Linked DNA regions of Homo sapiens: region 2 is linked to region 1. Evidence: promoter capture Hi-C in human tissues and cell types (Jung and others, 2019). All regions are on one chromosome and are shown on one strand. Each heading gives the region's core, a stretch centred on a gene start or on the middle of the fragment in contact. The rest is flanking DNA. Distances are from core to core; before and after follow the strand shown. Region 1 holds the start of KCNB2 (potassium voltage-gated channel subfamily B member 2). Region 2 overlaps KCNB2 (potassium voltage-gated channel subfamily B member 2).

Region 1 (4,243 bases), core at 884-3,383:
ATGATATGGTCAGGGTTTTGCGTGAGGAAAAGCAATTGGCAGAAAGTATTTAAACTGTGTGGGAGGGTGGAAAGGATGGGCGGGAGGGAATGGACTGCCTGCAGGTCCCTGGAAATGCAGAGCTGGAGCTTGGGACCAGGCCAGAGTTGGGGATAAGAGTTTGGGAATCTGGGTGTCCTCTTCCTAGTGTTCATAATTGAGAAACCCCAAGAAGAGCAAAGGGCAGGGCAGTTTCTTGCTGGAGGGTGACAACATCAGAAGGGCCAACCTCCATGCTAAATATCCCGCCCAACATCTGACACCTCAAAACAACAACAACAACCAAAACAAAACAAAAACCCACCACAAAACCAAAAACCCTCAGTACAAAGTAAGGCCACCTCCCCATAGCGAGGTGGGAAGTCAAGGTGCAGAGAATTAGAGAGGATAGCGCATTCCAGGGCATATCAGGGCTAAAACTAAGGCAAGGATGACATGGAGTATATTTAAAACAGTGTACTTGGTTCCAACAATGATAGACTGGATTAAGAAAATGTGGCACATATACACCATGGAATACTATGCAGCCATAAAAAATGATGAGTTCATGTCCTTTGTAGGGATATGGATGAAACTGGAAATCATCATTCTCAGCAAACTATCGCAAGGACAGAAAACCAAACACCGCATGTTCTCACTCCTAGGTGGGAATTGAACAATGAGAACACATGGACACAGGAAGGGGAATATCACACACCGGGGACTGTTGTGGGGTGGGGGGAGGGGGGAGGGATAGCATTAGGAGATATACCTAATGCTAAATGACGAGTTAATGGGTGCAGCACACCAACATGGCACATGTATACATATGTAACAAACCCACATGTACCCTAAAACTTAAAAGTATAATAATAATAAAATTTAAAAAAACACTCAATAAACAGAAGATACAAGGAAAAAATAAATAAATAAATAAATAAATAAATATAAATAAAACAGTGTACTTGGAACTTCCTCAACAGCCATCCTTCTTGGTCTATAGAAACTCAGGAGTCCCAGCTTTAAATAGACTTGTCACGGCCTGCGTTCGTTTCTAAAAGGTGTTTTAAGCTACTTTGTTTTCCTGAAAGCCCCTGTAACCGTGCCAGCTGTCTCTATTTCGTGCCTGTGAAGGAGCACTGGGGTCAGAAATATGTAAGGCTCAGTGTTATTATTCAAGTTCATTGTCTTTACCGAGCCCTGGAAGTGGGTACAGGTCTAAGTGTTCACCCTGCGGCCTCGCCAAGGGGTAACTTGGCATAGTTTTCCAGCTGGTAAGTTGATAGGCAAAGGAAAGAAAGAAGGGTATGAAGAGCGCCCCCGTGAGAAGCAAGGGTTAAGGTTGCCACGGACCCGGCTTTACCCTCAAACCCAGGAAAGCCGGGTCACTTGGGGCTAGGGACGGCCCCCGAGCGAGCGGGGCTGCAGGTGCCGCGAGGAAAGTCAGATCTTATCTGCGCTCCTAGTTATCTCCGCAGCTCTTTCTCCAGGAAAATAATCCTGGCACCACCACTCAGGAGCCATCTGTCTTCGCCCCAGTTCCCCGGGGTCGAGCAGTCAGCCCAGGGTCAGGGTCCTGCTGTGGGCGGGCGGGAGGACAGCCCTGCAGTTGGAAGCAGAAGGGCCGAGGGAATCCCGCGAAGCCGCCGGAGCGCGTCGCGGCGGGGCCTCCCGGGGCTTTCCCGGCCCCGGGTGCGCGGCAGCCGCGGGGGCTGCGTCCCTCTAGTCCAGTGCAGCCGGGTGGGAGCTGCAGAGCGAAGCAGGTGGGTGTGGAGCCAGGCCCGGGGCAGCAGGAGTGGCTGGCGCGCGGAAGCTGAGGGAGGCACCCCGCCGAGGTGTGGGCGGTGCCTGCCCGCGCCCCAGCCGCGCCCTGGGCACCAGAGCGCTGTCCCCGGCCGAGCGCACAGCTCCGGCGCCGCGAGGCAGAGCCCCGGCGTCCCCGGCGGTGCGCTGCCGGCTCGCGCAGCCCAGCCATCCCGCCCCGCCGCCCACCTTGACAGCCGGGAGCGCTGAGGAGGAAGAGGGGGAGGGGGAGGAGGAAGAGAAGGCGGCGGCCGCTCCAGCCCGCGGGTGCGCGGAGCGCGGGAGGAGGCGGAGCGGGAGGCTGGGGTGGCCGCAGCCCTGTGTGCGCGCCGGGCCGGCTAGCTGCGGGGCGGGGGAGCGGCGCCCCAGAGCGCCCCGCCTAGCCTCCCGCGCGCAGCCTCTACCCTGCTCCGCCACAGACACACACCCACCAAGCACCCACCGCCCTCCGCCCTCCGCCCTCCGCCCCCGCGGCCGCCGCCGCCGCTGCGCCTCGGGCAGCCCCAGCGAGCGGCAACTCCCGGGCTGGCGCGGCTCGCTTTCTGGCTCCTTCCGCGCGGCGAGCTCAGCCCCGCTCGATTTTTCCTCTTCTGTTCCAGCCCTCTCTTGTCTGGGTGGCTGTGGCGGCGGCAGGGGGATGGGGACCCCGTGTGGGGAAGGGGTTGAAGATCGATGAAGATTATTGTTCTTTTAAAGGATGCCTTAGCTTCCTCCCGCCGCCTTTCCTCTGAGCCTTCCTACTAGAGACCGTGAACCAGAGTCAGGGATGTAAAGACAGGGGGAAAGCACGCCGGGAGCTCCAGCCAGCCGGGGAGACCCTCCTCTCTGTGGAGGGGAGGGGGATTTCCAGCGACAGGTCATTGGCGAAGGGGATCGTCGCGGGGAGAGGCTCCCCGGAGGGAGCGGGGAATCCCACAGCCCTTTGTGGTGCCCGAGCCCGTGCCGCCTGCTGAGCGGGGTCTGTGGGAGCTAGGTAAGTGGCGGGGGCATTGCTGCTCCCCGAAGGGGGTCTTCCTTTAAGAATGAATCATCGCGGCAGCCTAGCCAGACTTGAGTTGCTAAAGGAATTGGAAACTGCCATATGGCGCCCAGTGGACTTACACACAAAGCTGACTTAGCCCTGAGAGGGTTTTTAATGTCAGGCTCCTTCCCGGTGGGGAAGGCGCTCAAGTATTAGCCCCTGAAAAGCTTCCCAGCAGCCTGACTGGGAAGGGATGGGGATGTTATTTCTAGGAGCCGAGCTCTTGTTGCCTTCCGTCCATTTGTTGGTAAATGCCACACTCACATGCACACACTTGTGGGACTGGATTTAGGGAGTGTGATGTCTCTGATGTATGAACGATCCTCAGAACACAGAGACATGCGTGCATTTTATTCTTCAAGCGGTGCGCGGTCTCCGTTCTGTAGCACGATTCCTGAGAGGGAGAACGGGTCTCTAAGGAAAGAGCTTCATGGCTGTTTCCAACACACTCTGCTAGGGGACTTGGGAATACGTTTGCCCTGAATAGCACCAAAAGACATCGACCATTTGCCTCATCATTTGCTCCCGATGCTTAATGATCCTCTTCAAAATAGTATGCCGCCATCCATTTTCTCGAGTTGTGAGCATTTATGCGTATTCATTCATAAAAACTGTCAGTGTGCAATATGCACAAACATGCCATTTATGCAACATTTATGACTGCACATGTGTTTCAACAATAAGTAATAATGCATACAAGATTACATTGAAAAAAATTTAGTATGCACATACACTGGGTTAATTCCGCGCAGGTTCAACATTCCTTCTAATCAAGTTGTGTAGTAATGTCAAGATTTTAAGTATCGTATCACATTTTCATTTTTGCATTGATTAATTTTTTTATTTTGTTGGGAATCTGATTTTTTGAAACTGAGGGAAAGGAAGAGTAAGCATTTTATTGTTATTGTTAAATGTGTAGTATAGTGTGGGTCGGAAGTCTCTTGGTTTATTTACCAATAAACAGCAATCAATATATTACATTTCATAGGACAAGCGAGAGATAGATTTCGGTCAAAAATCTTGTCTTACCTGTCAGTGCTGAATAACTTACAGGAAAGATTTTGTAAAAGAGGGTAACATTCTAAAGTTACATATCAAGAAAATAAAGTTTTGTTTTATCTATTTCACTCTTTAGGGGCATGTGTGTGTGTGTGTCAATAAATATAAAGTTGTCCAAAGCTTAACGTAATACATGAATAAAACCCATCTAGACTAGACATCTAGGCTAGAGAGTTCTTTGTTCTTAAATTAACTCAAACAGTTTAGTAATTTGGCACATTACACATGTGTATGCGCATTTAATTGCCGTTTGAGGTGGTGTTTTTAATTTAAGGGCATGGATAAAGTGCTTACTTGTGTGATTGCATGGACTCTGAAAATACTGAAGGTCCAACGTAGAAA
Region 2 (4,243 bases), core at 1,251-3,750, 380 kb after region 1:
CTGGTGGCAGGAGCAGACTCCACTTGCTTGGTCCCGCTGTGTTCCACCCCCTCACGGGACGGGGAGCACAGGTGAGAGGAGCCAGGGTGAGAGCTTTTAGGCACCAGCAGGAGCAAAACTCCATGGGGGCCCTGCAGCAGCATCTGAGGGTGGTGTCTGTAACCCCTGAAGCCCCAGAAGGAGTGCTACAGTGCTGTTTTAACTTTACTGTCTGTGGACAGCTTAAGTGTTAATAGCTCAGTGTAGGTTCAGCGTGACAGCCTTTTGCATCTGCACTCCTGGCACCCAAGTTCTTATCTGGCATCCAGGAGGAATGAGGTCACATGAATGAATTGAATGAAGATGGTAAATGTGGGAGATTTTATTGTTAATGAAAGTGGCTCTCAGCAGGAAGGGGAGCTAAAAAGGGGACAGAGCAGGAAGGTATTCTTCCCATGAAGTTTGGCCATCCCCAGCCACACTTCTCTCTAAAGCTACATCATCAAGTTGTCCCTCTGAAGTCAAGCTGCTTCTCTCCAGTGTCCAACCTTAGTCTCCAATGTCCAGCTGCTTCTCCTCTCTCTGTCAGCTGAGCCTGGCATTTTTATGGGCACACGATGGGAGATGGGGCAGACCATGGGTGGTTTGAGAAAAGGCAACATTCGAGCTGGAAAACAGGGATGGAATTTATCATTTTGGGCCACAGTATCAGGCTTTTGGGCTTGAGGGTCCCTCACTGCAGACCCACCCTCTTCCACCCAGAATTTCCTTGCCTTCTGTCCCTATCAGTTTCTAGACATAAACAACAGTAAATCATTAATCTGAGAAGGAAATCATTTCCTTGTGAGGCTTTTTCGATGAGTACTAAAGTTGAGAAATGATTTAAAGAGTGAATAAATCAAAGTGAAATAAACTCATGTACAGCAAAGAGAAACAAGGATCAAAAGGTTGAATTTAGCACCAAATAAACTTCCAGTGGAATGAGAAAGTAAATACTATAATCAGTTGACTAAAAGTAATCATTAATATGTGAGATATCACCCTTATTATAATGTTCAGATGTTTTAAAAAGGCAAAGGAGACAATATGAATAATAGAGAATTTATGCTGTTATTAAATGAACATATGGTTATTTTATTGAAAATTAGAAAAAAATCCAGAGTTAAAAGCCTGAGACCTAGTCAGTAAATCAACTCCATTTAAAATACTCTTAATTGGCAATTGTATGTGACATGACATAGTATTTTGGTTTCAGTTCAAACAATTTGTATTCTGTCAATGGTGTTGAAATTGGGAAAGGAAAAAGATGGTTATATATAATTTAAGTGGTAAATTTTTAAAAGAATGGTGGTCCCTTATACCAAAATATATTTTCCAGTAATATCAGCTTTACAACTAGGTATAATAGGTGAATGTTTTTGCGGTATAATTTAAAAGCCCCCACTAATCAAAAATATCTCCATTGCCTGAAATTCTACTGATGAAGATGGAATTCTACTGATGGGTCAAGATATAATCTGACTCTCATAGTGATATCAGGTTGGTAGAACAGGAGGTGAAGGCAATGGTTGCTTGGGCAGATATTTTGACAGGGAAGAGAAAGGACCCAAAGAGGTGTGAAAGGTGTAGAGAGAAGGGGAAGCAGGCTGAAGGGTATCCAAGGTAAATAAAACTTGCCCCACAGTGTTTCCCAGGCTGATCAGGAATGCCAATATGCAAACAGGCAATTATATTCTTATTTTCAACCTACCTAGTCATGATTTTACAGAGAGAAAATTAGTTCCTTTCAGCCTATTTCTACTGTGAATTTTGGTGTTCTTTATTTATCTGCCAAATCTGTGGTACCTGACAATCTCCCAACCATATCATTAGGATGAGAACTTTAAAGCAAAAAGATCAAGCAGCATAAAAGTTGTGTCTTCTGTAGCAGTGCTAAGTCATCATCTGTCTGTGCTTTGTTCTCTTGTCTACTTAGACTTTCAGAAGCAAACACTATTTAAGCAATGAGAGAATGGGGTTGTGGGAATGACACTGGGCATATTTTTTATTATTATTATGTTAACTCCTTTATTTATGTAGAAAGCTTAGAATTTGTTTTGCTAAGCTTAATGTCTTAGAAAATAAGATAAAGAAAGCCTAAGGGCCACAGATAGTATTTGTTGGATTGCATTTGCATAAATAAAAATTTGATGAAAATAACACATATTCAATAGGCATTTAAGATAAGTACTCAGATCTGGGAAAATTCCTAAAATTCCCCTTTTTGAGGAATTCTAAACTAATTTATAAATAATGTGGCAAAATGAATTTTGTATATTTTATTATGTTTATATAAATGATTCAAAAGCATAAAATATTACTCCAATAGTAGGAGAAAATCAATGATTCAGTCTCTCCTGGTGCACAAAGCTTTCAGCCTCCTAGAGGCCATTTAATGTGGTGCAGCTGGCCAGTGGCAGCCAGGGCTCATTGGGTTGCAGTTTTATGTGCTATTGTAATATAATGTGTTTAGTCATGCCCTCTGCCTGTTTTAGGAGGTCAAATTTTAGATTCCCGGCATATACAAAACTAGTCTGGCATTTAGAAAACCTAGAAGTCTAAAAGACAACACTGTGCTCAGTGACCAACTCTGCAAACAACAGCTGTGGCCACAAATAAAATACCATCTATCTGTAAGTAAATAGAATGGAAAGGGCTTTTGGGCACCCACAGGTCTTTTTCACCATATCTTCAAGCACAGCTAGCAATATTTATCAGTATTATCATCTCCAAAGGAGATATACATCTGTTTATATATGTAAATGCATGTATTTATATGCATGCGTATGTTACACCATAGCATTAAGGTGTTTCTATGAGAATTTTTCACTTCTTTACATATTTAAGCATCTTCAGCACTATACGGAGGAACAGCTCCACCTGGTTCGTGGCCGAAGTGGAGTTCCCATAGCCCTGCCCACTAAGTCTTCTCCTTCTCTCAGCAGTGGCCCCCACAAGGCACATCTAAAGAGCCCCTAGGCTCCTGAAAACCACAGAAGGAAGTGATTCTCACTATGGAGATTAAGAAAGACTTTTGGGAGGGTGGGGGTAATGGGTAGTTTTTAAACTGGGACTGATTCAAAATAGTTGTGTACCACACAGAAGATAGGCTTCTGAACAACCACTGTTTTTTCCATCATCAGAAGAGAAGATTTGTGTGGTAGCCTTCAGACATGACCTGCCACCTCCCCTTTGCAGCTGATGAATATTTGACAGGCTACAGGAAATAAGGCATGGCCACAGGCTATGATGGAGTGACCATATGTAGGTCTATCACTGACAAACTGATTGCATTCGACCAAGTGAGGATCCCTAGCTTGAAATTACAGAAATATTTTAAACTTCTACATAGGAAGTAAGAAATTTAAACATGAAAATGTTTAGGCTATATGTGAAAATTATCTGGACATTTGTCATAATATGCTCGGTGTATTTTTATCTGTAGACTAAATATCAATGGTGGTTAAATTTTGCTTTGATAATCAGATATTATTGCAGACATATGTCTTCATCTATGAAGACTATTTGTTGAATATATGCAGTAATGTTAGCCACTATTTAAAAGCACTTACGAGGTACTAGATATATTTAAGCTCTAATCTCAATGCTATCACCTCTATTACCTGAAGAGTAGATGCCTCGTAGCCAGATGAGCAATAGAATTGAGATTTGAATCCAAAATGTGACCTATAAGCTAATATTATAGTTTAAAACTATTGAGTCAATTATTTTAAAATTAATTACTTAAGTTATATATAACTTAAGTCATGTAAGATCACTAGATCTCAAGTCATGTAAGCTCAATAAACATTTACTTAATCAAAAATTGGGTCTTTTTTCTTATTTTGAGACAAATCATATAATGAAAAAAACCCACATATTTAGAAACCAATATCAATCAATAGTCTATCAATAATGTTAACTTTGCTTAAATATTGAAGGATTTCATCAGAAGTTTAAAATAATGTCCTGGCCAGGCACAGTGGCTCGTGCCTATAATCCCAGCACTTTGGGAGGTCAAGGCAGGCAAATCACTTGACCAGCCTGGGCAACATGGCAAAACCCCCTCTCCACTATATCTATCTATCTATCTATCTATCTATCTATCTATATATATATATATTAGCTGGCCATGGTGGTGTGCACCTGTAGTCCCAGCTACTCAGGATACTGAGGCTGAGGTGGGAGGATGGCTTGAGCCCAGAAGGTGGAGGTCACAGTGACC

What was found. Contacts are between HindIII fragments. The study calls those that stand out against the background at their distance.
Region 2: a contact is called between a fragment that was not itself captured here and the fragment with the promoter of KCNB2 in region 1, in 1 of the 25 tissues and cell types used here (dorsolateral prefrontal cortex).

What each region holds. Positions count from the first base shown.
Region 1 is chr8:72,535,092-72,539,334 of GRCh38, forward strand. It overlaps KCNB2 (potassium voltage-gated channel subfamily B member 2), which reads left to right and starts at 2,134. Exons shown (of 3, transcript NM_004770.3): 1 at 2,134-2,794. RefSeq lists silencers at 1,724-1,853, 1,864-1,913, 1,924-1,983, 2,144-2,193. The HindIII fragment of the contact is 6,044 bases long and covers 1-3,515 here.
Region 2 is chr8:72,916,348-72,920,590 of GRCh38, forward strand. All of the region lies in intron 2 of KCNB2 (potassium voltage-gated channel subfamily B member 2), which reads left to right. Among named protein-coding and RNA genes, the nearest start is that of KCNB2-AS1, 37 kb to the left of the region's middle. The HindIII fragment of the contact is 3,873 bases long and covers 565-4,243 here.